3 separate regions of the Homo sapiens genome follow, and all the other regions are linked to region 3. Evidence: promoter capture Hi-C in human tissues and cell types (Jung and others, 2019). All regions are on one chromosome and are shown on one strand. The core of a region is centred on a gene start or on the middle of the fragment in contact, and the rest is flanking DNA. Distances in the headings are between cores, read along the strand shown. Region 1 overlaps PTEN (phosphatase and tensin homolog). Region 2 overlaps PTEN (phosphatase and tensin homolog). Region 3 holds the start of FAS (Fas cell surface death receptor).

What was found. Contacts are between HindIII fragments. The study calls those that stand out against the background at their distance.
Region 1: a contact is called between a fragment that was not itself captured here and the fragment with the promoter of FAS in region 3, in 1 of the 25 tissues and cell types used here (dorsolateral prefrontal cortex).
Region 2: a contact is called between a fragment that was not itself captured here and the fragment with the promoter of FAS in region 3, in 1 of the 25 tissues and cell types used here (dorsolateral prefrontal cortex).

The regions. Positions count from the first base shown.
Region 1 is chr10:87,887,322-87,890,021 of GRCh38, reverse strand. All of the region lies in intron 1 of PTEN (phosphatase and tensin homolog), which reads right to left. Among named protein-coding and RNA genes, the nearest start is that of PTEN, 25 kb to the right of the region's middle. The HindIII fragment of the contact is 7,093 bases long and covers 1-2,700 here.
Region 2 is chr10:87,917,811-87,920,510 of GRCh38, reverse strand. The region is part of intron 2 of PTEN (phosphatase and tensin homolog); the gene reads right to left. Among named protein-coding and RNA genes, the nearest start is that of PTEN, 56 kb to the right of the region's middle. The HindIII fragment of the contact is 7,122 bases long and covers 1-2,700 here.
Region 3 is chr10:88,989,503-88,992,205 of GRCh38, reverse strand. FAS (Fas cell surface death receptor) reads right to left here and starts at 1,408. Exons shown (of 9, transcript NM_000043.6): 1 at 1,300-1,408. The coding sequence starts at 1,329. FAS-AS1 (FAS antisense RNA 1) reads left to right here. Exons shown (of 1, transcript NR_028371.1): 1 at 1-784. It also overlaps a transcript of ACTA2 not described here. RefSeq lists enhancers at 473-552, 683-1,092, 1,233-1,743, 1,744-2,255 and a silencer at 2,663-2,703. The HindIII fragment of the contact is 1,672 bases long and covers 357-2,028 here.

The DNA.
Region 1 (2,700 bases), core at 12-2,511, 1.1 Mb after region 3:
GGGGAAGCGGGAGGATGGGTTGCTGCCCTTGATTTTTAAAGATACAAGATTCCTAACAGCCAATTTCATAGGTGCAATGCTGGCCTGGATACTGTTTTAGCCAAACCAGCCATAAAGGACATTTTTGAGCTAATTGGAAACATTTTAATGTGATCCGGGCATTACACAAGATGAAAAGTTACTGAGATGGAAAAGTAGATGTAAATGACTAAAAAAGGCAGGTTTCAAAACAGAATGTACAATGTAATACCATTTGGATAAAAAGAATACGTATATATCCATATAGACATATATAGACAAAAGATTATAAAGTACTAAAAGTCATATATAGGTGGTGGCATGTATATTTTTTCTCATATTTGCTTGTTTTGTATCTTCTATTTTTGCCACAATGTACCTGTATCGTTTCTGTAACAAATTGCTTAAAATTAGATGTTTTATAATTATCTATTTACTAATTGCCATGACAAAATGCTGTCTTGCCCTGTATGTAGAAAAAGCTCTGTATGCATTTTTTAATGCCAAATTTCTACCAAAAAATTATACTAATAAAAGCATCTAAGATTTAAATTACTATGCCCCAAGAACATTTTTTGTCACTTTAGGAACATACAAATTCACCCTCAGCCTCAAAGGGTTTTTATTATAAAGATTCTAAAAGAAAACTATTAGGATTATCATTTTAACATCACAAATATTTGCTGTCATCTACTACTCTCACATAAGAAAGCTGCCCCAACTCTTAGCCAATCTGACATTTTTTTTAAAAACTGAGAAAAATAAATTTAAAAAATTAGAAGAAAGTAGCCTCACTTAAAAATGTAGCTGTTGTTCAATTATCAAAATGTATTGGGATATTATATCCATTCATTTTAAAAAAAAAAGCAGAAGACAGCAGAGGCCTAAAGTGAAATAATCTTAACTGAGTAATCTTAACTCCACCTTAGAAGACAAATGTAAGAAAATGGAAGACGTCAGAAAAAATGAGGCACCAGAAGCAATGGCAGGGAACCCAAAGTGGTTATAGCTACCAATACTCTGGAATTCCTACTCAAAATTATAAATATATTTTGGCCAAAAAATATAAATTCAAATCATCTATGTTTTTTGAACAACGCAACTAAGAATATTTTATTAAAAGAAATAATTATTAGCACTAACAACCTTACCTAACCTAAACCATTAATTTCAGTGAGAATAGTATTAAGATTTTTATCCTTACAGATATGCACAGAAGTACAAAGCCCCTCCCTTGAAATGTGGTCATTCTAACCAGGGCTAAACTTGAATTTATCCTTGCACTATAAATACTAATTAATAATTAGTATTTAATGCCAGCCTGGGGGAACTTCAGGCTGATGTCTATTTTCTGCTGCTATACAATACCACAGACGGGGTAATTTATAAAGAAAAGAAGTTTATTTCACTCACAGTTCTAGAAGCTGAGAAGTCTAAGATCAAGGGGCTGCATGTGGTGAGAGTCTTCTGGATGCATCATAACATGGTAGAAGGCATCACATGGCAAAAGAGGGCATGAGCACATGATAGAGAAAAAGGGGGCCAAACTCCAGAGATAACTAACCCACACCTGCAATAATGGCATTAATCCATTAATGAAGGCAAAGCCCTTATAATGTAACCACTTCTGAAAGGTTCCACCTCATAATAATGCCACATGGCAATGAAGTTTCAACATGAGTTTTGAAGGAAACAACCAAACCATAGCATTCTGCCCCTGGGCCTCAAAACTCATGTCCTTCTCACCTACAAAATACATTCGTTTCATCCCAATAGACCCTGGGAAGCCCCACCTCCATGGCTTTGCTGTACTTAGCCCATGCAGCTTTCACAGGTTAGGGTCTCAAGCCTGAAGTTCTCCCAGGCTGGCACTGTATACTTGTAGCTCTACAGTTCTGAAGCTTTGGTGGTGGGCCTGCTGCCATGGCTCCATTATGCAATGCCCTAGTAGGGACTCTCTGTAGTGACTCCAACCCACATTTCCACCCTTCAGAGGCTCCAAGCCTGTGGCAAGTCTCTCCCAGACTATCCCCATCATCCTTTGAAATCCTGGTGGTGGTAGCCATGTCTCCCACAGCTCTTTCATCCTGTGAGCCTGCAGAATTAGCACCATATAGACGCTGCCAAGGTTTACCATTTGAGTACTCAGCAGTAGCCTAAGCCACACCTGGGCCCCTCTGAACCAGACCTAGGACAGCCAAGGCCCACTGGGTTGAAATATGGGGAGCTGAGGTAGCCCTGGGCAGCAAGCTTGTGAAGGACCACCTGAGCCACAAACCATTCTGCCCTCCTAGAGCTCTGGGCCTGTGATGGGGCAGGCAGCCTCAAAGATCTCCAAAATGCCTCTGGGGTCTTTTTCCACTGTCTTGATAAATAGCCCTTGGGTCTCCTCTAGGAATATTAATCTCTTCAGCAAATGGTTCCTGGACCACACCCTTGGTTTGCTCTCCTAAACATACCTTTTGCATTCTTTACTATGGCCAGGCTGCAAATTTTCCAAGTATTTCCATTCTGCCTCTCTTTTAATTATAAATTCTGTCTTCAAGTCATTCCCTTCCCCCAGCTTAGTTTAAGTGGTTAAAAGTAGCCATCCAGTAACCTAAATGCTCTGCTGCTGAGTTATTTCTTCTGCAGCATATCCTAGTTCATCACTCTTAAATTCTGCATTCCATAAAGTCTTAG
Region 2 (2,700 bases), core at 128-2,627, 1.1 Mb after region 3:
TGGGGTTATTTTCTCATTATGAAGTTGTAAGAGCATCTTTATGTATATATTATACATTCAAGTCCTTTTTCAGATATATGTATTGCAAATATTTTCTCCAAAACTGCTTGCCTTTTCATTTTGAGTCTTTCAATGAGCAGAAATTTTTAATGTTGATAAAGTCAAATTTGTCCATTTTTTCCTTATATAGTTAATTTTATATGTACTGTCTAAGAAATCTTTAAACCAAAAGTCACAGAGATTTTCTCCTATGTTTTCATCTAGAAGTTTTATATTTTTAAATTTTACTTTTACATTTAGGTCAACAATCCACTTCAAATTAATTTTTGTATATGATAAGACATAAAAGTCAAGGTTCACTTTGTTTTCTCTATTGTTCCAGTATTATTTGTTTAAAAGATTATCCTTTTCCCATGAATAATCTCAGCACCTTTGTCAAGAAATGTGTATGTGAACTTTTCTGGAATCTACTCTGTTCAACTGATCTACATCATGTGACCCAACAATTCTACTCAAAGGTATTGAATAAACAGAAACAAAAATATATGTCCACAAAAGTCTTGCACATGAATGCTTACAGCAGCTTTGTTCATAACAGACCCAAACTGAAAACAACTCAAATGCCCACCACACTAATAAAGAAATGTCATATCCATACAATGTAATATTAGTCAGCAATAAAAAAGAACAAATTATTGATACTAGTAACAACAGGGATAAATTTCAAAAATATTATACTAAAAGAAAGAAGCCAGACACAAAAAGGAATACATGCTATATGACTGTATTTATATGTAATCCTAGTATAGGCAAAGCATATAGAAAGCAGATCAGAGATTGCCTGAAACCAGGTTTGGGGACTGACTACAAATGGGCATGAGGGAAACTTTTCATAAAGCGAGTGTTCTAAATCTTGGTTGTTGTGTTTACAAGAAGGTGTGTGTTTACAAGAAGGTGTGTGTGTGTGTGTGTGTGTGTGTGTATTTCTCAAAAGTCAATGAACCGTACATTTAAAATGGGTAGATTTTATTGCATGTAAATTATACTCCAATAAAGCTAATTTTTAAAAGTAATATAAAAAAAGTAATATAAATAGCCTCTGATTTAGAAATATCAGTATGTAAAATGCAACCTACCTTTAAAAAGACTCAAATTTATTTTGATTAAGCTAGAGGACAGCAACAGAAAGAGTACATCAACTTCAGGAATTAGAACTTTTTAGAATGAGAGGCAGAATGACACTGTATAGAACAGCACTGTCTAACAGAACTTTTGCAATAATGAAAATGTTCTGTATCTGTGCTGTCTTAATACAGTAATCACAAGCCACATGTAGCTACTGAGCACAAGAAATGTAGCTAGCAAAAACAACTCAGTAAATTTATTTTATTTTATTTACATTTAAACATAATGATAGCTACATGTGGCTAGTGGCTACCTACACTGGATAACAGATATCTAAAGGATATCTATCTATGAAAAAAAAAATCTGCTGGGATACAATACACATGCTCCCTAGTCAGGTAGTAGAAATGGGTACATCCTTAGAATAGAGCATAAAATTGGAACAGAGAAAAGGTACAGTAAAAATTAGAGACTTCACAGCTGTCAAAATATATACTAAACATATTTTCAACTACATGCAGTTTTCCAATAAATTCTTGCCATGCTTGATTAATTTGCTTCTGTCATTAGATTAGAAAGAAACTACAATTCTGGATATATTTCTAACTAAGAATGAGGAACAAGTTTGAGTGGAAATGCCAGGAAACAGGGAGAAAGTGTTCACATAATTTTAGAGTTCACGTCAGACAAGGAAGGAAATACTGGCGTAGTTAGATATGATACAGATCAGTAAAACAGATTTCAAAAGCTTCATTTAAATAACAGGCTATGAATTCATAACTCAACCTATAATGAAAGACTTGTGGTTTTAAAAACTAAAATTCTGTATAAACAACTACAAATGACTCCAGTTTAAAAAAGACAAAGGAGGAAATACACAAATTATCTAAAATCAACCAACACAGCTGCAGTGAATTTACCTTCAAAGCTCAGATTCAAAACGTACATATATATATTATAATAGCCAAAAAAGGGGATGAGAGATAATTACAGATGAAACAAAACAGCAGCACATATAAAGGAACATGAAAATAGTAAAAACAAAAGGCTTGGAGGAGGGGAGAATGTTCACACCAAAAAGAACAATAAAAAAATTAGGCCAGGTGCAGTGGCTCATGCCTGTAATCCCAGCACTTTGGGAGGCCAAAGCAGGCAGATCACTAGAGGTCAGGAGTTCAAGACCAGCCTGGCCAACATGGTGAAGTCCCATATCTACTAAAAATACAAAAATTAGCCGGGCATGGTGGCACATGCCTGTAGTCCCAGCTACTCAGGAGGCTAAGGCAGGAGAATTGCTTGAACCTGGGAGGCAGAGGTTGCAGTGAGCCAAGACTGTGCCACTGCACTCCAGCCTGGGCAACAGAGTGAGACTTTGTCTCAAGAAAGAAAAAAGAAATTAGACTCCCACACATTAAACAGCTATATAATGCTAAAGACAAGGAAAAAGGCAGGAACTCTTAAATTCCCTTTTCACTTTTATCTTCTCTATCCAAAAGAAGATGATTCAGTAAGTAAGGAGTAGTGGGTACATGACAGTTCTCTTTATTGAAAGCATTTCCTACTTGCTAATTTAAG
Region 3 (2,703 bases), core at 159-2,658:
AATGGACCCAGACATCTCAGCCTCTTGGTGTAATCTGGATATCAGATGCAATCAGCGAACAGCCTGAGTTTTGGAATTAGATCTGAGTTCAATCCCATATCTCCCATTTACTAGCTGTGTGATCTTGGCTGAATTACTGAAGCTCTCTGAACCTCATTTCGCCATCTGTAAAATGGGGATGTGGTTATCTTCCCCACTACATGGCTCTCGTGAGAATCCGCGGAGATCACATTTGTAAACACTTCTCTCGCTATGCCTGGCACTTTGTTGGGGCCCAATAAAATAAAAATCCATGGACTCTCAGAGGCTCCGGTACTCAAATGAGCCTCCTGGATCCACGTCTCTTTGATTAGCCATCTGCAAGCTGGCATTTCTGAGCGAGGGACTTTTCAAAACAGGCTGCTCAAGTTTCTTGGCCAATAATAGGCGCCGGGTTCTGTGCGGTGGGAACGAGTACCACCAACCCCAGCAGGAGACCAAGCAGAAATCACCATGGGAGTGCAAGCTAAGAAAGGGCAAAAGAAGAAAGAGAAGGGCAGAAAAACAAAACAAAATGAAACCACTCAGGCAGCGACTTACAGTCTTAAAGAGAGAATTCCCGGAAGGGAGACAAGGCAGTTTCTTTTTCTGTGTGACAATAAAAAACGGTAAACAAGCCTCCAGAAGCTCATTCAGCCCCCATATAACTTTTTCGAGAAAGAAAAGGTGCCGTTCTTCCGAGCCCTCCGGCTTAACCACTGCTTCGGTGCTGACTTATTTCCTACGTCTGAGAACTGCCAGAAAATGAGCAATATCTGTTCTGAAGGCTGCAGGCTCTCTCCCCGCCCCCGCGGGGCGGCGCGCACTCACCCACCCGCGCCGGAGCGGACCTTTGGCTTGGCTTGTCAGGGCTTGTCCAGGAGTTCCGCTCCTCTCTCCAACCGGGGTCCCCCTCCAGCGACCCTAAAGCTTCCCAGACTTCCGCTTCAATTCCTGTCCGCACCCCACGCCCACCTCAACGTGGAGCGCAGTGGTCTCCGAGGAGCGCCGGAGCTGCCCCGCCTGCCCAGCGGGGTCAGCACTTCGCATCAAGGCCCAAGAAAAGCAAGTCCTCCAGCGTTCTGAGCACCCGGGCCTGAGGGAAGGTCCTAACAGCCCCCGGGAGCCAGTCTCCAACGCCTCCCGCAGCAGCCCGCCGCTCCCAGGTGCCCGCGTGCGCCGCTGCCGCCGCAATCCCGCACGCGTCCCGCGCCCGCCCCACTTTGCCTATCCCCGGGACTAAGACGGGGTAAGCCTCCACCCGGGCAGGAGAGGGCTCACCAGAGGTAGGAGGGTCCAGATGCCCAGCATGGTTGTTGAGCAATCCTCCGAAGTGAAAGAGCTTCCCCAACTCCGTACTGAGCGGGTCCACCAACCCGCGGGAGAAGAGGCAGCTCCGCCTGGGCAGCCAGGGCTGGCCTCAGGGTGTGTTCCGTGCCAGTGCCCGCCCCTGAGGCTCCAGCCAAGTCACTCGTAAACCGCTTCCCTCACTCCCCAGAAGCGTCTTTGAACACCTGTGTGTCACTCTTGCGCGAGATCAGAGACGAGCTCACGAAAAGCCCCGGTGGTCAGGAGGATGGGAAGGAAGCCTCGCTGGGGAACGCCCGGGTTGGGGAGGGCTCCATTGATTCAGCAACTTGGCCTGCGCGCGGGTAGGGAGGGGGAGAAGTCAGGGTGAGGAAGGAGTCAGGGTTCGTTGCACAAATGGGCATTCCTGTCCCGGGGCGTTCCTGCAGTGGCTGGCATGCTCACTTCAGGTGAGGACCTCGAGAGCCGGCCTCCTGCCCTTTCTAAAGGCTTCTGCTGTAGTTCAACCTGGGAAGTTGGGGAGGTCTTGAAGGAGAATGGAGCTCAGAGCGCAGAGGTCCTGCCTGGGTACAGGAGCCTTGGCTAATTGCTGGAGTCACTCAGAGAAAGACTTGCGGGGCATTTGACTGGGCTGTCCATGTTGTGGCTGCAACATGAGAGGCTCACAGACGTTTCTGGAATGGACAGTTAACCATATGAAAAAGTACAGATGTTGCGCCATAGGGCTCTGAAAAGGGAGGGCCCCTTAGTTTTTATTTCTCAAGAGGAAAACAAAGCTAACAACTTAAGCCAAATCGCATAGCCCCAGCTATATTAAACATTCACAATTACTTCCTGTCCTTCGTTACTCATTATTTCCTGGCCAATTTTCTTTAAAAAAAAATCTTGTAATTCTTTCGTGCTCTGGTGAACACTGTTCAAAGTCACTATTGCTTTGGAACGGTAGATAGCTCTTAGGTAGTTTAGCATGAATTTTACAGAAGGTATGTTTGGATAATGACATCATTACTGAACCTGAATTTGGATGCAGTTCCAGACTGGACACACTAAAGGTTTCAGTATTCCTTTGGCATCGTCCACCAAGCTCTGCACCTCACTCTGCAACCTCTCTCCCTTCCCAATTAGATTCAACCCATTAATAACACATTAATAACCCTTTGCTTAGCCCACTGTTCATCCTTCAGGCTTCCTCTCAGTTGACATTTTCTTCTGGAGCCTGTTTGGGCCCTCAAATCTAGGTTAGGTTACCCTCCTGAGGGCTTTCCATCACCCTGTGTTTTGCATCTGTCACTGCACTTACCACCAGTCTTGTAGGTGTTGATAGGCTTGTCTCTGTTCCACCTTTCAGTAGACTGTTAGTGCCATGAGGAAGACCCT